Regions from separate parts of the Homo sapiens genome. Here all the other regions are linked to region 4. Evidence: promoter capture Hi-C in 16 types of primary human blood cells and fetal thymus (Javierre and others, 2016). All regions are on one chromosome and are shown on one strand. Each heading gives the region's core, a stretch centred on a gene start or on the middle of the fragment in contact. The rest is flanking DNA. Distances are from core to core; before and after follow the strand shown. Region 1 overlaps BCAS3 (BCAS3 microtubule associated cell migration factor). Region 2 overlaps BCAS3 (BCAS3 microtubule associated cell migration factor). Region 3 overlaps BRIP1 (BRCA1 interacting DNA helicase 1). Region 4 holds the start of TBX2 (T-box transcription factor 2). Region 5 overlaps BRIP1 (BRCA1 interacting DNA helicase 1). Region 6 overlaps BCAS3 (BCAS3 microtubule associated cell migration factor). Region 7 overlaps BRIP1 (BRCA1 interacting DNA helicase 1).

Region 1 (3,063 bases), core at 387-2,886, 470 kb after region 4:
ATCGTGCCACTGCACTCCAGCCTGGCAAAAGAGCGAGACCCTGTCTCAAAAAAAAAACAAACAAAAAACAAAAAAAGAAAGAAAGAAAGAAAAAAATAAATAAAAGAATTTAAAAATACTGAACTGACCTATCACTTTCATTGTCAAAATAGAGACTACCATGCCTAATACAGTGCCATACATCTACAGTGGGGAATAGTTCAAAATAATTCACTAAGTTTCCTATTACTCTGAGACACCATGCCAAGCACTAGAGATACAAAGATTAATGACATCTGATCTCTTTGTAGGAGGAACAGATAAGTTAGCAAGGGAAACAAATATTTAAACAAATGATTGTCACAAAATAAATTACATCATAGTTATAAACCTAGTGTCCCAGCAACACAGAAAAATAGGTATAAATATTGCTATTTTTAACCTTATCGTATAAACACAAATGTGAGAGGACAAAGAAATCAAATGGCAAATGTAGATCAAAATTATGAAACCATTTTATGACGACTACAACACTCTTTATATTATATAATATGTTCTTCTTATAATGCAAAGTCACAGGAAAAAAATACAGCTGCCAGTGTCAGAAGCACTGTAGGGTTATATGAAATATACACTAACACAAAGGAGATCTGACATAACAGATGGAATATCAATATGAGTCATACCGGTCATTCCAAGTGGAGTGCTACAAGTGACATAACTTCCAGGCTGTTTTTTCACATTTAACTTAATTCCCACAACACTCACAGAATTTCAATAAATCTTGCCTTTATTAATTAAATCAATCCTACTGATTACCAATCACTATAAAAATCCTGTTCCCTTAATCAAAGATGACTTATTAAGATATTAGAGGGTAGATTATTTAAAGTGCTTTATAAAATAATATCTCTATATAATGATAATCCCTTACTATCATTCTTTATTTGAAAAGATGAAAAGAAGGGGAAAAGGATTGGCTTTTCCCATCAATTTTAAGTGATATAATCATTTCTGAAAACTAAGATTAAAAGTAGCATGCTCCTTAGATACATCAACCAAATGGGTAAGATCTGAAAAGACTGCAAGTTTATGATGACTATACCAGCTCTGAAAACAAAAGAGCAGTTTTATTTACAAAGTATTTTTAAAATACAGATTGAGCATTCCTAATCTGAAAAACCAAAATCCTCACAGAAATTTATGTTCTTCTTATAATGCAAACCAAAATGCTCTGAAATGCTCCAGAACTGGAGCACTGACATGATGCCACAACTGGAGAATCCACACCTGACCTCATGTACAAAGTCTCAGTTAAAACGGAGTCAAAACTATGTTTCATGCACAAAATCACTTAAAATATTGTACAAAATCACCTTCAGGCTATGTGTATAGGGTATACATGAAACAAATAAATTTTGTATTTAGACTTGGGTCCCACCGCCAAGATAACTCATTATATATGCAAATATTCCAAAATCAAAAAAAAAAAATCTAAAATCAGAAAGACTTCTAGTCCCAAGCATTTCAGACATAAAGTACTCAACCTGTAACTTGTTTCCTACCACTGGAAGTATTACACCAACTCCTTACTGTGAAAATTGGTCATTTAAAAGAAAAAGAGAGAGAGAGAATTAGGCATTTATACCACTTTTGATATACAGGAGAAAGGCTGTTTACTCCTGGCTGATGAGAGAAAACGTTTTCTATAGAAGAATAACAGTCAATAAATGCAGAGACCAGGACAGAATTAAGAAAACAACCCACCATTCTACAACCTTCAATGTAACAAAATTATTAATTAAAAAGTTGCTTCAGAAATAATGTCAAAATGACATACTGTAGAGTACTTGTTAATCTCCATAAGAAAAACCTATTTCCAATAATGTAGATACTTGATAGTCATTACTTTACTCATGTGATCAAATATAGCACCACAAATAGGGAGACAACCTAAAATAATGTGTCTCCTATTGGGATGAAATGATGTAGACGCAATACTTACGAAGTTTAGAAACAAACAAACAAAAACTCCTTAGCCTGAATGGATTTATACCTCTAGACTTAACTTCCAGTTAAACAGATAGATATCCAGGGAATGGAGAAATACAAAAACATTATCATAATGAAAAAAATCTGGCCAAGCATCGTGGCAATACTTTGGGAGGCTAAGGCAGGAGAATTACTTGAGGCCAGGAGTTCAGGACCAGCCTGGGCAGCATAGTGAGACTCTGTCTTTATCTTTTTTTAAAAAAATAGTAAAATAAAAATTTAAAAATCTTACAAATGCAGAATTTAAATAAGACAACTACTCTGGATATTGTGAAAAGAAAATTAAGAGTACAAATTGTATGCTATATTAAAAGGAACTAAAAAGATATAACAAAATGTAAGGAGTAAACCTTAAGAAGAAAAAGAAAAAGAGCACCACTAAAAAAAAAACCGAGAAAATTAAATTAGCTTACAAAGTGTTGTAAGTTAGTTACACAAAACTTCAAGTTACAAAAAAAAAATACTGCTCATATCCATTAATATTCTAGTTTGGAATACTGAAGTTCTTGGAGTAATTATAAACAGAAATTCATGTAACTCAACAGCATTGTTTAAATGGCTGCTATTTAATAGCTACTTTATCGAGAACAAAACCAATTTTAGAGGGATTTTAGAGGGGTACTAAATTTTTATTATAAATTCCTTTATTCAATATAATGACTTAATAACTTTTCTGATATATACTGATACATGAAGAAAAGTCAGATTCCATATTCCATATTTGGCTGGAAAACCCATTATATAAATGGTCTACAAAAAAAAAAAAAAAAAAGACAGAGAGCGAACTTACCACTTGTATTAAAAGCCATGCAGCACACTGGCTTCTCATGGGCAGGGAAGTGGGCCACAATGCCATCACTGTCAGAATCCTCACTCACAAGCACCTTCACAAAGAAATAAAGACAAATGGAGGTAAATATTTTCTCACTGATAACCGAGCTTGAAGCCTATAAGAAGGCACATCACAAACCACTGACCAAATAACATGTTTCCACTCTAGCAGATTATTCTTGCCAATATAAGGAGAGAATT
Region 2 (2,902 bases), core at 257-2,756, 370 kb after region 4:
ACACTGGGATTATTTATCTTAAATTCCTATGTTTAAAAAAGTATGTTATATGTGTAATTCTTTTGTATTATTTTATATAGTCATCCAAACTCAAATATCCTAAACTAACCTAGATGACACATAATACCAGGGAAGTCCAAAGTGACTAAAATGTTGAAGATGCATAGTTTACTTTCCAACAAGCTTATTTTGTTACCAAAGGGAACGACTGTATTTTATAACGACTCATCTGAAAGTATATGAATGTAAAGGACTAAACCTGTTTAATGGAGAATAAAGAACTAGCAGAAATTGTGATATACCAAAAGCAAATTCTTAGCTAAGTGTTAACGTTGCAACTCGAAACTAATAAAAAGTTTGTAGAAAATTTACATTTCATTTAAAAATTTCATTTTTCATCCAAAATACATATATTACCCTATAACTGGATATACTAAAAACATATTTATTTAGCATATAATGTTTTATTTCAGAACAGTACATAAAAACATTCTCAGGTTGAATGCTAAATAACATGGAAAAATAGCAAAAACTATTAAAACAAAGGAGCTCTTATAAACAAAATGGAAGAAGTTGTCAAATTTATATTCATTTGCTGCCTTAATTTGAGGTTTCATTAAGATCTTAATGGAAAAAACATGCACCACTGGGAAAGTAACATTTTAAAGGAGAACCTTTTAGTCTAGTATAAGTGACTAAAAACGAGTTTCTTGTGAGCTAACGATGGCATCAAACAAACCACAAAGCAGTCTTCTAAAAGACAGGCAATGATTTAAAAGTCTACTATATTTAATATATCCCTTTCTTTAATCTGGCTCTTTTAATCTTGTTTCAACCTCAAATCATTTCTGGTTGACAAGTGCTTTTGCTTAAATGTGAGGAGCACGTAAGCTGTTGAAGGAATGAACTTTACTTACTTAACATACAACAGTTGTTATTCCATCTTTTACTTCTATGCAAAACTTCAATCTTTATTAACATACTACAACTCTTTGCTTTGTACTTAGAAGAAGAATTTATCCTAAAATGGAATTTAATTCTAAGTTTACAAAGAAATTTTGTCATATGTTGAATGTGGCATTTAAAATTCACTGATCACTGGAAGGCTCATAAGTAAGATCTGTGTATCTTATTTGTTTTTAGAAGACATCTGGTTAACAAAATGAATAAAGATCAACTTTCATGAGATTTATATTCTTGTATATCCTGAATTTGTTTAGAATAGTTTTGCAAACTGTGTCTAATTATAATTTTCAAGGAGGAAAATTTTATGTTGATTTGTTTTATGTCACCTATTATTAAGCAATAACAAAATTTTCAGATCTTCCTATGGCATATAAACATTGAAATAAGTTTGTGTCAAATAATAATTAACCTTAAAGAACTATTTAAGCTTCTTTCTGTCCAAGAGGAAAAAACGTTGGAATGTTTTTTTCTAGTGTAATAGAACAGTATGAACAATCCCCATTTAGCAGTTATGAGAACTACACATATGTGCAGAACTCTTTTCAGTATTCTGACTAAATTAATAAAATTAATATAGCTTACATTTCTCAAAACTTCGCACTGGTTAACATATCCTTAAAAGTGAAAAACATAATCTAATTTAAATAAGCTTCTTTTGAAACACGGTATTTTTCCCTGAAACAGGAAAAGAAACAGTGGTAGCAGCTAACATTTACTGCACATTTACTATGTGCCAGGCACTGTTATATACTAACACATACTGAGATATGTATCAGCTTATTTAATACTCATAGTGAGTCCATTACATAGGTACATTTAATACATAAGGAAATAAGAAATAGAAAGGTTTTAGAAAACTCCCCCCAAATCATATAGCTAGTAAGTGTGTCAATTGGGATCTAAGACCCAGGCAGTCTGACTCTTAACCATTAAACATTTTATACCATTCTTAACACATTCTACTTCCTATCTTTACATGAAAGTATTAAATATATTCGAATTCTTTTCTATGACCTTCCTGTCTAAGACTGACAAAGCTGTATTCTGTGCACTGACATGAAAGAATTTACCAAATAATTAAGCTATGATGAGTATGTGCTAATAATTCAAAATAATAAATTATTTAGGAGGTTTTATGTAAAATATATATTTTGTCATTATGTAGCTCCTTAAATACCTAAACTATTCAAAAACAGAACTTTTGTCTCTTTAGGACCAAATAAAATGCAACAAAAACTTTATAAGGTGCTTTTGGTATACCTTAAATATATTTATATTTCAAAATAAATCATGTCCTCAAATGCTATGCATGATATGTAGGTAACTTCTAATGCCATAATACTCAAAGCTTTAAACTTGGGTGTTAGCCTTGTCTTGTAATATTTACGAGCATTATGAGAGAATTCTTCTATTTAAAAAAAATTCATCTGTGGTTTTTTTTTTTTTGTTTTTTACTTTTTAAAGAATGAAGTGAAACCAAGAAAACCACTTTTCTAAAGCTTAAATATCAACATTCATGTTCCATCTACAAATTATTCAGTAACTTGGTGCATCTATCTGTGATCAGGCCATGCAACTGGAAACAAAACTACAAAACAAATTACTTTTTGAGAGTACAGCAAATGAATGAGGCATGCGGGACTGAACTGGAACTCACCATGGGGCTTTTATGGAAAAACACCCCGCTCCAAAGAGATAAGGCCTTCATGGAAAAGGGGGAAAAATGCACAAAAAATTAGAGAAAAACTCATTTAACATTAGCAAATACAAGTATATCATACTGTTATAGAGTATGGATAAAAATAACTAAAAAATTAGTAATCATTTACAATTCTGCTGTACATACTGTCTGATATAACCAATAAACAGAATGATGTGTAGTAACAAGGCCCTTAATTTTCAGAGTTAGAGATTCAAAATTTTCTATTTCTCCCCC
Region 3 (2,893 bases), core at 327-2,826, 460 kb before region 4:
CAGCCTTTAAATTAAATTAGGGGTTATCACAGGTAAGGATCTTAGACTAGAGAAGTAAAAAGATATGTCAAAGATAACATACCTGAGTCAAAGATAACATACCAGGCAGTATACCAAAACCTGGTATAGAACCTATGCTTCCTGACTTCTGGTCAACAGCTTTTTTCTTCTAACTGGAGGACTGCAGAAAGGGGTAACACAAAGGGGAAGAACTGGAGAAAGAGTGATGCTACGGAGTTGTAGAGAGAGAGGCCTCAGGAACTTATTTGTTTCTGTAGGTTGATTACATCTGATCTAACTGTTACAAGAGCTCATGTTTAATCTGGTATGTACTTTATCATATTTGCACATTATTTCACTTAATCATTACCACAATCCTATGGGGTACATGCAGTCACTGTGGCTTAGAGAAGGTAACTAACTTTCCCGAAGTCACACAACTAATACCTGGCAGAGTGAAGGATACAAATCTAGATTTGTTAGACTCTAAGACATGCTCTTGACCGCTGTGATTTATAAGACTAGGAAATTATTTTGTTTCCATTTGTTTTGTTTATACTTTTATTAATTCCAGTTTCTGTTTCCAGATTTCTCCCTTAGTTTTGGTTCTCTGGTTTTCTTTGTAAGGCGTGTCTCAATATTTGACATTTTCATTTCTGTTGTAGTTAGGAATCTGAAATAAACAGGAAAGCACTATGTCTTCAATGTGGTCTGAATATACAATTGGTGGGGTGAAGATTTACTTTCCTTATAAAGCTTACCCGTCACAGCTTGCTATGATGAATTCTGTAAGTATTTTTCAGCAGTTAAGTTTTTATTAAGATATAGATACTTATGACCCATAAAGTACATTGAGTATTTGACTGCATTCATATTCTCAGTAAATGGAGAATATTTTCTGGGTTCACTTGGAAGAATATCTAACCTCTGGGAAACTACTGATTGCAGCTAAACTGTATATATCTGTGGTTAAGGCAAAGAAGAACATTCTGAAAAATGTTCTCAGCTCATTTGGAATTTCTATACTTTTAATGAAAAACTGCTATACTTTTAAGTAAAAACAGAGTATTTACTATCTTTTACACAGAATACTATTTTTCTCACCATTGTTTTGTTTGGATCATGTAGAAAATTAATATACAAATTTGAGTAAACCAGCTTTCCAGTTTTGTTACAGCTATTTTGCCATATGTACTTCATATCTTATTTACTGGTAACAAGATTATTAGTATCCTGAATTTGTTCTTTTCCTTTCCTAGCCATGTTTTTATACTTTTATTACATATATATGTATCCATAAACAATATAGAATATTATTTTACATATTTGAAACTGTGCATTGATGTGATACGGTACCTTACTTTTTATGCAGAACTTGAGTTTTTTAACTTAGCATTATTTTTAATGTATAGCCCTGTTGATTCTTAATCCATTTTAATTGTTGTATAAATTCCATTGGATGAATATACCAGAATTTATCTGTCCATTTTCTTATTGGTAGACATTTAGGTTGTTTACATTCTTTTGCAGTTACAAACAATGCTGCTGTGAACTTCCTTTTTTCTTTTTGTTTTTGAGACAGCGTCTCACTCTGTCGCCCAGATTGGAGTGCAGTGGCGCGATCTTGGCTCACTGCAACCCCTGCCTCCCAGGCTGAAGCTATTCTCCTGCCTCAGCCTCCCCAGTAGCTGGGATTACAGGGATGCGCCACCACGCCCAGCTAATTTTTGGATTTTTAGTAGAGACGGGTTTTCACCGTGTTGGCCAGGCTGGTCTCGAACTCCTGACCTCAAATGATCCACCTGCCTTGGCCTCCCAAAGTGATGGGATTACAAGCGTGGCTGCTGCTGTGAACTTTCTTATGCATGTTTCCTTGTGTTCATGTGGGAAAGGTTTTGGGTGTACACATAGAACTGGACTTGCTGGAGCTGGGCATCTTCACTTTATAAGAAATTGTTTATTTCTCTACCAAGTAGTTGTAACAATTTGTACTCTCACTAGCAGTATCCTTCATTAAGTTTTCATCAAATATATTGATAGGTAGTAATGTATTCTGGTTTTACAGAAATCATTGATGCTTGCATAATTCTGGCACAGATTCCTCTTTTCATTTCTTCTCTTGTGCTTGATATTTTAGTAAGATAATCTTAGGGAGAGGTGTAAAGGAATACAGTTTGGATTTAACTAAATATGAGTTCCTTCTGCTATTGTTGTGTTCCCTGGAGTGCAATCTCACTTTTCCTTGCTGTTCTATTTAAACTTCAGATGGAGAGAGACCTTTATAAAGTTAATATGTTTATTATTTTCATTGGTTTCTGTGTTCATAGATTCTCAGAGGATTAAACAGCAAGCAACATTGTTTGTTGGAGAGTCCCACAGGAAGTGGAAAAAGCTTAGCCTTACTTTGTTCTGCTTTAGCATGGCAACAATCTCTTAGTGGTAAGTAGTTGCTTGATATCTTCAGGTTACTTACTGGGATCTGAGAAAATATAATACAGTATTCTTTATCCAGACTGGTTCAGCCATGCTGTCGCTAACTTAAATATTTGTTTAAAGATGTTTCTTTGAAATAAGTTATAAATCTTCCAAAAGAGTTTCAATATAGCAAAATATGTTTAATTAATGCTAAAATAGTATTGAACATAATTTAGTCTTTTGATGAGTCGGAAAGTACATAAAGACTTGGCAGCCTGGGCAGCATGGTGATACCCCATCTCTACAAAAATTGACAATCAATTAGCCAGGCATGGTGATGTACACTTGTAGTCCCAGCTACTTGGGAGACTGAGGTGGTAGGATCGCTTGAGCCCAGGAGGTCGAGGTTGCAGAGAGCTGTGATTGTGCACTCCAGCCTGGGTGAAAGAAAACAAACAAACAAAGTTTTGGATGCTTA
Region 4 (3,021 bases), core at 96-2,595:
CTCGGTGGCTGAGTCGAAGGGTGGAGGGGCCGGGGCTGTGGCTTTCTTCAGGCTTTAAGGCCTGGGGCGGCGGATGCGTCCAGGGCTCGGATGCCCGCGGTGGAGAAAGGGCTCCCAGCCCGGTGAGGCGGAGGGCTCGGCTGACCCGGGGCTCGCTGCCAGGAACCGAGCAACCAGCGTGGGGTTAGCTGGGCCCAGGTCCCACTAGGGGCTTCGGGGTCGGAGCAGAGTCTGAGAGAGGCTGAATTTCCCCCGAGCTCGGAGACGGACCCGGACGCAGAAGAGCGAGAGCGCGGGGCGGAGGAGACCGCCAGGGCCAAGCCGCGGGGCCTCCTCTGCGCTGGGACTCAGAACGGTTGGGGCTATTCTTTAGCAGTATGTTTTCGTTTTATTTCATTCGGAGGATTTTAGCGTTTTTGTTTTAAAAAAAAATCGCTCCGGTGCCAAACGAGAAAAGTCAACTTGGTTGTCCGTGGGAGCGAAGCGTGGCGTCAGGGCCAGAACCTGGAGCCGGGAGCCGGGAGCCGGGAGTCCCCAGCTCTGCTCTGATCCGTGCAGTCCCGTGCCCCAGCCCGCCCGCCCGCCCGCGCGCCTTCCAGCCGGCCGGCAGCCCTACCTCCCGGACTTGGTGATGACCATCTCCGTGCCTAGCTTGTGGAACTGGTCCCACAGCTCCTTGGCCTCCAGCGTCACCTTGGGGTCGTCCTCCACCTCGTCCTCGGGCTCCAGGCTCTTGAGGGAGCGCAGATGCGCGGCGGGCGGGTGCGGGCCCAGTGCCGAGACGTGCAGCCCCGCCTCGGCCGCTGCTGCCGCCGCCGCCGCCGCGGCCGCCGCCCCCGCCAGGCCCGGGTCGGGCAGCGGCTTGGCCAGCGCGCCGGGCGGCAGCGCGAGTGCCGGGAAGAAGGAGGGCTGCGCCGCCGCCAGAAAGGCGGACATGGGGAAGTCGGCGGGCCGTGGCGCGTGGAACGGGTGGTAAGCCATGGCGCTGGCCGCCAGCGCCGGCTCTCTCATCGGGACATCCGGCCCAGGCGCCCGGGGGCCGGGGCCGGGGCCGGGGGCGCGCGGCTCGGACCCCCGGCCCGGGCGGCGGCGCGCGCGGTGGACGGACGACCCGGGTGGCGGGCGCAGCAGCTGCTCCTCGGGGCTTCCCGTCCGGCGCACCGCAAGGGGCACCCGGCTCTGTGCGCGGGGGCGGCGGGGGCTCTGCGCGGGGCCGGGCTGGGCCGGGCTGAGCTGGCCCGCTCCGGCGCCGGGGACCACGCGCGACTGGTTAGATCTTGTCGTGATCTCTGGAAAACTGTGACTATCTCACATGTCCTGCCCAGCTCGGATCCCCTGCGCTAACGAGCCAGGCCCCCCTTGATTGCTGATTTTACGCTTTTTGGACCAATTGTGGGTCTCCGGGGGCGGGGTTTTGACAGCTCAGGCCAAGCTCCGGCCGGGAGGGGGGGCCTGGGAGAAGGTGTCGGAAGCCTCAGCAGTAAGAAAACATGTCAACAGAATAAAATATTAACCAATGACGGGCCGCCGGGCCCCGAGACCCCTCCTCCTGCCCCGGCCCCCACCGCCCGCCCGCGCCTGCGGCTGCCTGCGCCGGACTGGAGAGCGCGGAGGGCCGACCTGACCCGCCGAAAGGGCCTGAGGCGAGGGGAGCCCGGGTCCCGGGGCCTTGGGGAAGGACCCGCAGCCGCACGCCGGCCCCAAGTGCAAAGCATTGACACGACCCCGAGCGGAGAGGGGGCGCCCTCCTTCTCCCGCGCCCAGAGGCCCGGCCGCTCTGGCCCGAGCCCCAGCCTGGCCTCCGACCCAGCTCCGGGTCGTGGCGCCGCCTGGGGGTCCCTGCGCCCCGGAAAGAGACAGCAGGCACTGGAAAGCGAGGCCGGTGGGCGGGCGAGTCGGGAGGCTCGGGCGGCCGAGGTCCGGGAGCGGATCCCAGGTGGCGGGAGCTGGTGAGTGGAGCCATGGCCGAGCCCTGCTGGGGCCGGCGCGGGCGGGAGCGGGACGCGGCCTTGCGCTGGGGAAACGCGGGGACCCCCTACCCGCGCCCGCCTTCACCGGAAGACTCGGAAGGAACCTGGAGTTCTCCGCAGGCCCGGGCCCCGCCCTGAGCTTTCCAGCGGCCGGGAGGAGCGGATCCTCGGGGCCAGGAAGGTGAGCGCACCTTTCGCTGAGCACAGGGCGGCACCGCGCGGGCGGACCCCGGATTCTCCACCCGCGACCCAACGAATTTTCGCCCTATCCGGTACCGGAGACGAAAGTCTCCTTCTTCCGAAATACCGGCTTCCTCTCTTCGCCCTGCCAACCACTTTTTTAGTTTCTTCTCATCTCTCGGAAGCGCACGTCTCCTAAGTTAAGGAGTGCTGAGTAACGCGTGAGGGAGTTGGGGTGTCTGCGAGCACCTGTGATTGAAGCCCCCTCTTCTGTGATCAGTCTTCGTTTTCTGTCTTCCGGCAGCCTCAGTTTCCCCCCCATGAAGTGATGGTGTGTGTGTGTGTGTGTGTGTGTGTGTGTGTGTGTGTGTGTGTGTCGGGCCCCGTGTGGTGCCCTCTGTGCGCAGCGAGAGCTATAACTCAAGGTGTGCACGGGGAGAGTGAAGCGACCACGCACCTGCTTCCAATCGGGCTCGGGCGCGAACACTCAGGCTGATTCCTGAAGGTCGTTTTCTGAAGGAAAAGACAGAGCATGCACTAGCCACGGGTGACATTCCCACCCGTACAACCGCGTGGTGGGCGCGTACATCCAACATTGACCCATGCAGGCGCCCGCCCACTGCGCACACCGGTCGCAGGGCACTTCGTTGTTGAACGTTGGGAGCAGCGTTTGAAGGCCGGATCTCTCCTGGCAGTGCGGATTCGGGACCGGCGGAAGCAGTATGGCCTCTGCGACCGTTATCCCTACTTTTCGGGGCCGACCCCAGGGCCCTCACAACTCCTCATCACCGCATATGTGAGCGCCGCCCCCACAGGGTTTTCTCCACGACCTCGTTCTTGGCTAGGTCGCACCTCTCTTAGTACCTCCTCT
Region 5 (2,953 bases), core at 277-2,776, 420 kb before region 4:
ATCAAAAAACAACCGTGAAAAGGATCTGTCTTAATGTGCTAGCCCACTGCAGTTTAACATATTGCTTACAACCTTCACAATAGAATTTGAGTGACTTCAGTTACACATTCCAGGAGACTGGCAGTCTGTTACAATCAGAGTCTGAACTTTAGAGCAGGCTAATTTACAGCGATGGGATGAAGAAAGTTGTGGATTTGTATTACACACTCTCACCTGACACTGTATCTGATCCCCTACCTGCTGATTGACATCTTGAATGAGCTCTTTGAAGCAAGTTCCAGCTTAATTAAAACGTTTGCTTGGTTAGCAGTGATCTATGAAAGCCTGTGATAAATATTGAATCAGGTTCACCTGCTGGTTGCTGTGAGTGGATAAACAGCTGCTTTGTGCAGTCTAATCATGAAACGGTGGCAGTAGGGTACTACTACTGTTTGAATTTTTAAAAAAAGAATAGTTGAAAAGGTATAGTTATGTTACTTTTGCTATCTTACTAGAGTGTGTGCTAATGTGAGATTTTGCACAACGGGCATTCAGTACCTGTTTAGATGGCTTGGACAACAGCAAATGGTTGATAAAGATTAAAAAACCCTTTTTTATGTCTCAAAGTTTGTAGTATAATTCTATGTTCATTGGCCTTTTACCACTAGCTCTTCATATGCATGACTTTTTGAAATAAAGGGCAGTGTTTTGCTTTTTTGCTTAAGTGGTAGATGAAAACAATCCTGTTAAAGCTTCACTTTAAAGATTTAAGGTTATGAATTTCAACTTCTCCACAAATTTATTGTGTATTTTGTGGGAATTTGAATTCTTCTGAATTTCCTTTTTTATCTGTAAAATGAAGTTAGAAATATACATTAGTGAACTGAGTATTTTAGCCTTATGTTAATATTAGGTAATTAACAAACATTAAAATAGAAATGAGTTCAGAAGCAGTGGAGGAAACTTTATGAAATTCTCTTGGCTGTTGTTTATTCCTTTACAGAATAACTATGTCTGGCTAATTTGGTTATAAAGAAAATGTTGTTTCCATTTGATTTTCGTTAAAAAACCAGATATAAATTCTGGAATAAAGCCCTAACCCAAATCAGTCACAATCTGCTTTGAGCACTTGATTAAAGTTAGGGGTTCACTTTCTAAAAATGCACACAAAATTGTGTCTGTAGTTTCTGGGTGATCTGTAATAGCCCATGGACCCTAATTTGAGAACCCATTTCCTAATAAATTAGGTTGAAAACTTTTGAGGAGGAGGTGTTAAGATGAAAGCTATTCTGCTGGGTATGAAACAACTGAGGAGAAACCAGAACAGAGTATATTTACTGTGGGTTTTTTTTTTTTTTTCCAGCACTTCTAGCATTTTTCAGGTATGTTTTTCATGACAATTGTTAGCTTTTAAGATTATCTTCCATAGTCTTGATTCCTCACTCTCTACCTGAAGTTTTATATTTTTATTTCTATCATCAACTTATTTAGAATTTTATGGGGAAAATACAATTTTGTTTAAGCCATACTCAGCCTGTTCAACTGCTTGTTCATGTTTATCGATGTCGATGCATACAACTGTCATTCATATATTTTCATTATAATATTATTCCATTGATTGGAAAGAGCCCACAATTTACTCATCCATTCCTTCTGTTGATACATGTAGCTTGTTTTTCTCACTATTAAAACAATGCTGCAATTAATATTCCTCTTGTATCTGTCTTAATGTGCAAGAGTTTTTCTAGCATGTATACCTAACAGTGTCATGCTGGGTCAAAGGGTATATGTATCTTTGATTTCACTAGATCACCAATTTGCTCTCAAGTAGTTGTGCCAATTTATACTTCGATCAGCAGTGAATAAGAGTTTCTTCATATCCTCTCCAGTACCCAATCTGGTGGATAGGAAATGGAATCTAATTATGGTTTTAATTTGCATTTTCCTAATTACTAGTGAAGCTGTACATTAGATGGCACATCTTTTCAGATATTTATTAGCCTTTCAGCTTTTCTCTTCTGTGATTTGCCTGTTCTTGGTTTTCTGTAGGGTTTGTCTTTTAAAAATAGATTTATTGGAATTCTTTATATGTTGTAGATACTGATCCTCACTTGACTGTAAGCACTGCAAGTATCTTCTGTCAGCCTGTGCCCCCTTTTTACCTATTTTTCTTTCCTTCTTTAAGGAATATGTATCTTTAAATAGAAGTTTAACATGTTAATGAAGCTGTGTTTTCACTCATTTGTGTTTTTGGTTTATTGTTTTAGGAAATCCTTCTCTACATTTCGATCATAAAAGATATCTTCCTATGGAAGAAGAGACCATATAGCCTTTGAAGCTTGAAATGTTTACTGTCTGGCTCTTTTGCTGACTCTTGCTCTAAAGAGTCTATTAATTGAAAGTTTGTGTTTTTTATTTTTCCCTTGGGGGACATAATATGGATCTTGTTATAACATATTTGATTTAAATGTCAACTAATAAGTTAAAACAATTTTTATGAAGATCATACTTAGGAATATTTTGTAATTGCATTCATAAAATAATATAACTAACTTTAAACAATTCCTTGGTTTATGAGTGAAAATGGTGTGATAAACTCCAAGAACTACACTTTGTAGAACAATTTAAGAATGAAGCTCTCTTTGTCAGTAAGATGAGGTGATCCTTGTCATTGTCTTCTCCGTGGCTTGATATATAGGGATTCCAATGTCTCTTGAGTCAATGAATGAATGAAATGGGATATTAGATGAAAAATGTTTAGCACAAGGACAGGCTTAAAAATGGCAGTATTATTACTAATGAAAATATTGGGATATATGTTTGTCACGACTAAAATACTAGCATAAGATGGTTTTTCTTTTTGGCCTTGAAAAATAGTAATTGTCCTGTACTTTTTCCTTTAAAAGCTAATCTGGATTTTGAAGTATCTTTTTGATATGTGCAGCACTTCAAATTAGGACATCATTTAAGCATC
Region 6 (2,984 bases), core at 446-2,945, 460 kb after region 4:
GGGACTACAGGTGTGCGCCACCATGCCTGGCTAATTTTTGTATTTTTAGTAGAGATGGAGTTTTGACATGTTGGCCAGGCTGGTCTCAAACTCCTGGTCTCAAGAGATCCGCCTACCTCAGCCTCCCAAAGTGCTGGGATTACAGGCGTGAACTACCATGCCAGGCCAAGGCCTATTTTTGAAGTTCTATTCTATTAATTCAATTTCTGTGTCTATACATTCACTAATACCACATTCTTGGTTACTGTAACTTCACAGAAAATCTTGAAATCAGGTAAAATGAGCCTTTTCCTGCCTTTTTCAACATTATTTTAGCCATTCTTGTTTAGGATTTTGAGGGAACTGTATTGAGTGTAATAAATTAATTTGGGGACAACTGTTATCCTAATATTGTGCCTTCTGATCTATTAACACAGCATATTTCTTGATTTAGATCTATTTTGACTTCTTTTTGTTTGACACACAGATTCTGAAAATATTGTCTTTTAGAGTTATTATAAATGGTAATATTTTTTAAAATGATCAATTTTTGCTTGCTAGTGCATAGAGATAAAATTGATGATTTTTTATCTTGACAATGTATGTTTCCTGCAAGTTCTAGGGGTTTTTTTATACAGTACAAGAATTTTCTTTGATGACAATTACGTAGTTTAGGAACAATCACAGTTTCATTTCTTCCCTTCTGACCTACATGCCTTTTCTTCAATTTTCTCGACTTACTGCATTTGCTGAGGCAAGCAGAAATAGGAAGGAGAGATTTCTGTGTTGTAGGAGGAAAGCATTCAATCTTTAAGTATAACATTATGTATAGGTTTTTTGTAAAAGTCCTTCGTAAAATATGTTGAGAGTTTTTATAATGAAAGAAAATTGAATTTTTCAAGTGCTTTTCTGCAGCTATTGAAATGATTATGTGGCTTCTCTTTTTAAATCTATTAATATAGCGAATTCTAACAATAACTGATTGTCAAATGTTGAATATGCCTTGCATTCTTGGGATAAGCCTCGTTTGGTCAAAATCCTTTATTATAAGCAGCTAGATTCAATTTTCTAATATTTTCTTGAATATTTTCTTATCTGTGTCCCTGAGAAATACTGATTTGTGGTTTTCTTTTCTAATAATGTGTTTGGATGATTTTGATATTTAGGATAATCCAGGCCTCAAATAATCAAATGGGAATGCTCCTTACTCTGTTAATTTCTGGGGAAAAAAAAGATGTAGGATTGCTATTATTTCTTCGTTAAATGTTTAAGGGAATTTTCAAGTAAAAATATTTGGGCCTATTTTTGAAGATTTTTAACTACCATTAAATATTTTGTTAATTTTTTAATTTAAAATTTCTTCTTTGATGAATTACTTTCTGTAATTCAAGGAATTCATCCTTTTAATATCTGTAGAGACATTAATGATATCCACTTTTTCATTCACGATATTGGTAATCTGTGTCTTCTCTGTTTTTTTTCTTCACCAGTCTGGTAAGGTCTTTTTAAGGTTAACCTATTTGGTTTCATAACTTTCTGTTTTTCTCTTTTCAATTTCACTGATTTCTGTTACTATATTTATTATTTCCTTTATTCTCCTTGTTTTGGGTTCATTTGCTCTTCCTTTTTTCGAGTTTCTTATGGGAGCAGCTTAGATTATTGTTTCAGGAACTTTCTTCTTTTCTGGAGTAAGCACATATAGGTATTAATGTCCCTCTAAGCCTGCTTAGCTAAATGTAACAGATTTTGATATGCTGCAATTTCATTTATATTCAGTTTTAAATGTTTCCTAGTTGCTTTGTCTTTTGCTCGTGGGTTATTTAAAGGTATATTGTTTTGTTACCAAATATTTGGATATTTTCCAGATATCTTTCAGATATTATTGCCAGTATAATTTCATTATGACAAGAAGTTACTTCTTTTACATTTGTTAAAGTTTGTTTTATGGCTTGAAATATGATCCTTGTTCCATATACACTTGAACACCTAGAATATATTCTAGAAAGGTATGTAATTGGTAGTGATGTTTGCATCTTCAATTTCCTTACTGACTGACTGCTTTCTGTTCCATTACTGAGTAGGAGTTACAGTCTCCAAGGATAATTGTGGACATGTGTAGTTTTCCTAAGTTATATCAGCTTCCTAAATTTTAGAGCAAGGTTCATACACATTTAGGATTGTATGAAGTCTTGGTCAATTAACCCTTTTAACATGATTTAACCGTGGTTATTTTCCTTGCTCTGAGGTCTAGTTTTTTCTGATATTAACTTTACCACTCCAACTTTGTTTTGATTGGTACTTGCATGGTATATATTTTCCATTCTTCTACTCTATATCTATCAATATAGGCTTCTTTTAGATAACAGTTGGGTGCTCTCACACTCGCTCACTCTCTTTCAATCAAATCACTGCCTTTAATTGGTATTTGTAGTTTATTCATATTTAGTACTTACTGGTAGGGCTGGACTTAGGTCTACCAATTTATTATTATTTTTGCTTGTCTTGTTTCTGTTTTTTATTTCTCTTTTCATGTTTTCTTGCTGTTATGGGACTATTTATTTGGAATATTCAATTTTTATGAAATGCTAATTTCAACATTTTATTCAGTTTTATTTCTCTTCTCATGGTTTCTTGCTGTTTTGAGACTACTTATTTTTAACAATATTTATTGTTGAATGTTAAAAATAAATAATTTATCTATGGACTTTTGAGCTATATCTCTTTATATTAAAATTTTACTGGTTGTTCCAGAGATTATAATACACATATCTAACTTTATGTGCCTGTTCAGTTGTATTTTGTCCAGGTTTCATAAATGTTTTCTATGGGAAGGATGGTTTCTACGTTTACCTTGCTATTCCCAGAAGCAGAATCACATTAGTATAAGCATTTAAACTAATGTTTTGTTGAACAAAAAGGCATGAAAGAATATTAAGCATCTGTGGGAAGACAAGATAGTCATTTCAGTGAAAAGATGAAGTAAATTTGAGTTTGCTATTTCTTTG
Region 7 (2,918 bases), core at 115-2,614, 440 kb before region 4:
TCTGTCTGAAGAAATGAATAGAACTCATAAAACACTTTTGCATACAGAAGCAGGATGGATGTCCTGGGGAGAAGCGCCTGTAGGATAGTTTGGATTGTGAGCTGACTAGCCACTTTTTGTCATGGAACATCATTTTTGCTTGAAAAAGAGTGAATGATATACTAACCATGGTAATTCTTTATGATAAAATGAGCCAGATAAAATTTGAGCTTTCAAGTGAAAATCAGAATTTTAAAAAATTTGTATATACTCTGAGCTTGGCAGCTTTGTGATAACTACAGACTTTTCTGATGAAATTGGTGATATTACAGAATATGACTTTTTATATTTATATAATGAAATGTGTCAACATTTGTAAGATCTGTAAAACTCAATGAACTTAAACTCAGCGAACTAAATATTATTTAAATGACCAGTGCATGATATTGCAAAATGATGCCTAGAAAAGGTCCATCCTAAGTGCAAGATAGACTGATGGACCTTTTTTCTGCCCTGTCCCCCCATTCCCAGGCAACCACAGATTTGTTTTCAGTTACTGTACATTTAATTTGTGTTTTGTTGGTGATCTTCACTGAAGCTTTATATTAATAGTTGGAGAAATTATGTAGAAGCTTCTTCTGTTAAATTGCAATAATCATCAACATCATTATAATGTAAGCTATATGTTGAGCTCTGCCACAGTGTTTTCTCATTCATTTTCTTTCCTTTCCTTCATGGGCTTACTATTATCTGAAATTACTTGATTACTTGTTTATTATTTGTCTGTCCTATTACGATGTAATGTCAGTCTTTTTCATGTGTGTCCCTCATGCCTAGAATAGCATATGGTGCATATTAGTTGTCTAATAAATATTTATTTGTTGAATGTTACTGAGTTCTTACAATGATTATGAAGCAGGTATATTGGTATTCCCATCGTACAGATGAGGAAACTCTGAGAAGGAAGAAACTGGCCTAAGATCACAAAGCTAGTAAATAGTAGAGCTAAATCCTGCCTAGGCATTCTCATGTTCTGGCAAATGCCCTAATCACTTTATTTTATATTCTCTCTAAAATGCCTCTTTGCAGTCCTGGAGCCACCTAAATAGGGTTCTAACACCAAGATAAGGAAAGAAATATGTAGAAGCTCACAGATAAACAAATCAAGTATAGAGTCACCTGTGATTAAGATTTTTTTTTCTTGGGAATTGTTTTTGTTTGCTTTATTTGTAGACACAGGGTCTCAATGTGTTGCCCATGTTGTAACGCAGTGGTGTGATCATAGCCCACTGTAACCTCAAAATCCCAGGCTCAAGTGATCCTCCAACCCCAGCCTCCTGAATAGCAAGGACTACAGCTGTGCAACACCATGCCCAGCTAATTTTTTATTTTTATTTTTTGTAGAGATGAGGTCTCACTGTGTTGCCCAGGTTGGTCTCAAACTCATGGCCTCCAGTGATCCTCTTGCCTGGGCCTCCCAGAGTTTTGGGATTATAGGCATGAATCACTGCACCTGGCTTGTTTTGTTTTTATTGGTTAAGAGAATGGACTTTGGACACATACTGCCTGATCTTAATTTTTAAATAAAGATTGGGCCAGGCATCATGGCTCATGCCTATAATCTCAGCACTTTGGGAGGCCAAGGTGAGAGGATTGCTTGAGGTCAGGAGTTCAAGACCAACCTGGGCAACATAACGAGACCCTGTCTTTATAAAGAATAGAAGAAAAAAAATAGCTGTGTGTGGTGGTGTGTACTTGTAGTCCTAGCTACTCAGGAGGCTGAGGGAGGGGGATCCCTTGAGCCAGAAGATTGAGGCTGTATTGAACTATGATTGAACCACTGTACTCCAGTCTGGGTGACAGAGCGAGACCCTGTCTCTAAAAAAAAATAAAAAATAAATACATAAAATAAAAATTATATATATTTTAGGTGTAAAACATGATGTTTTAATATATATATACATAGTGAAATTATTACTACAGCCAAGCTGTGATAGTCTGTTTGAATTGTTATAAAGCAATACCAGAGGCTGGGCAATTTATAAAGAAAAGAGGTTTATTTTCACTCACAGTTCTGTAGGCTGTGCAGGAAGCATGGTGTCAGCATCTGCTTCTGGTGAGGGCCTCAAGAAGCTTACAAGCATGCCAGAAGACAAAGAGAGAGCAAACTTGTCACATGGAAAGAGAGGACAGAGGAGAGAGCAGAGGAGGTTCCACACTGTTTTAAATAACCAGATCTCGTGTGACCTCAGAGCAAGAACTCAACTCATTACTGTGAGGAGGGCACCAGCCATTGATGACCCAAGCACTTTACACTAGGCCCCACCTCCAACTTGGGGGATCACATTTCAGCATGAGAGTTGGAGGGGACACACTTCCAAATCATATCACAAGCTAATTAATATATTCATCTCCTTACATAGTTACCTTTTGTGTGTGTGTGTGTGTTGAGAACACCTGAAAATTTTAAAGCCAATATCGAAATATCCAGCCTAGAATATAGTATTATTAACTGTTGTCATGATGCTGTTCATTAGATCTCTAGACTTGATTCATCCTATGTAGATTCAACTTTTTACTCTTTGATCAACATCTCCTCAAATCCCCCACCTCCCTGCCCCAGTAACCATTGTTCTGATTTCTGTTTCTATGTATTTGACTTTTTTAGATTCCACGTATAAGTGAGATCATGTAGTATTTTTCCTTCTACATCTGACATATTTCACTTTGCATAATGTCCTCCCTCCAGGTTCATCCATGTTGTCACAAATAGCAGGATCTTTTTTAGGGCTAATATTCCATTGACATACACATACACACCACATTTTCTTTATTCATCCATTGACAGACACTTAGGTTATTTTCATATCTTGAGACTGCTTGGATTTTAATCATAGCTCTACTCTTTATTAACTGTATAACCTTGATTTTTTAAACTC

Evidence for each region. The method cuts DNA at HindIII sites, captures the fragments that hold promoters and counts their contacts. A CHiCAGO score of 5 or more calls a contact.
Region 1: a fragment that was not itself captured here is called in contact with the fragment with the promoter of TBX2 in region 4 in 2 of 17 cell types (megakaryocytes and M1 macrophages); the score reaches 5.4 in megakaryocytes.
Region 2: a fragment that was not itself captured here is called in contact with the fragment with the promoter of TBX2 in region 4 in 13 of 17 cell types (megakaryocytes, naive CD4 T cells, M0 macrophages and 10 more); the score reaches 12.9 in megakaryocytes.
Region 3: a contact is called between a fragment that was not itself captured here and the fragment with the promoter of TBX2 in region 4, in 3 of 17 cell types (total B cells, monocytes and naive CD8 T cells). The highest score is 6.9, in total B cells.
Region 5: a fragment that was not itself captured here is called in contact with the fragment with the promoter of TBX2 in region 4 in 1 of 17 cell types (total B cells); the score reaches 5.6 in total B cells.
Region 6: a contact is called between a fragment that was not itself captured here and the fragment with the promoter of TBX2 in region 4, in 3 of 17 cell types (megakaryocytes, M2 macrophages and erythroblasts). The highest score is 8.9, in megakaryocytes.
Region 7: a fragment that was not itself captured here is called in contact with the fragment with the promoter of TBX2 in region 4 in 7 of 17 cell types (monocytes, total B cells, naive CD8 T cells and 4 more); the score reaches 7.9 in monocytes.

Annotation. Positions count from the first base shown.
Region 1 is chr17:60,924,259-60,927,321 of GRCh38, reverse strand. It overlaps BCAS3 (BCAS3 microtubule associated cell migration factor), which reads right to left. Exons shown (of 24, transcript NM_017679.5): 13 at 2,822-2,915. Among named protein-coding and RNA genes, the nearest start is that of BCAS3-AS1, 210 kb to the left of the region's middle. The HindIII fragment of the contact is 4,676 bases long and covers 1-3,063 here.
Region 2 is chr17:61,026,632-61,029,533 of GRCh38, reverse strand. The region is part of intron 16 of BCAS3 (BCAS3 microtubule associated cell migration factor); the gene reads right to left. Among named protein-coding and RNA genes, the nearest start is that of BCAS3-AS1, 110 kb to the left of the region's middle. The HindIII fragment of the contact is 222 bases long and covers 1,396-1,617 here.
Region 3 is chr17:61,859,342-61,862,234 of GRCh38, reverse strand. It overlaps BRIP1 (BRCA1 interacting DNA helicase 1), which reads left to right. Exons shown (of 20, transcript NM_032043.3): 2 at 666-788; 3 at 2,328-2,439. The coding sequence starts at 696. Among named protein-coding and RNA genes, the nearest start is that of BRIP1, 2.7 kb to the left of the region's middle. The HindIII fragment of the contact is 1,636 bases long and covers 759-2,394 here.
Region 4 is chr17:61,398,167-61,401,187 of GRCh38, reverse strand. TBX2 (T-box transcription factor 2) reads right to left here and starts at 1,345. Exons shown (of 7, transcript NM_005994.4): 1 at 617-1,345. The coding sequence starts at 1,011. It overlaps TBX2-AS1 (TBX2 antisense RNA 1), which reads left to right and starts at 1,582. Exons shown (of 2, transcript NR_125751.1): 1 at 1,582-1,949. RefSeq lists a cis regulatory region at 1,261-1,272 and promoters at 1,261-1,508, 1,128-2,388. The HindIII fragment of the contact is 11,976 bases long and covers 1-3,021 here.
Region 5 is chr17:61,813,500-61,816,452 of GRCh38, reverse strand. The region is part of intron 6 of BRIP1 (BRCA1 interacting DNA helicase 1); the gene reads left to right. Among named protein-coding and RNA genes, the nearest start is that of BRIP1, 49 kb to the left of the region's middle. RefSeq lists an enhancer at 1-695. The HindIII fragment of the contact is 1,586 bases long and covers 734-2,319 here.
Region 6 is chr17:60,942,702-60,945,685 of GRCh38, reverse strand. All of the region lies in intron 13 of BCAS3 (BCAS3 microtubule associated cell migration factor), which reads right to left. Among named protein-coding and RNA genes, the nearest start is that of BCAS3-AS1, 190 kb to the left of the region's middle. The HindIII fragment of the contact is 5,117 bases long and covers 1-2,984 here.
Region 7 is chr17:61,842,883-61,845,800 of GRCh38, reverse strand. All of the region lies in intron 6 of BRIP1 (BRCA1 interacting DNA helicase 1), which reads left to right. Among named protein-coding and RNA genes, the nearest start is that of BRIP1, 19 kb to the left of the region's middle. The HindIII fragment of the contact is 1,501 bases long and covers 614-2,114 here.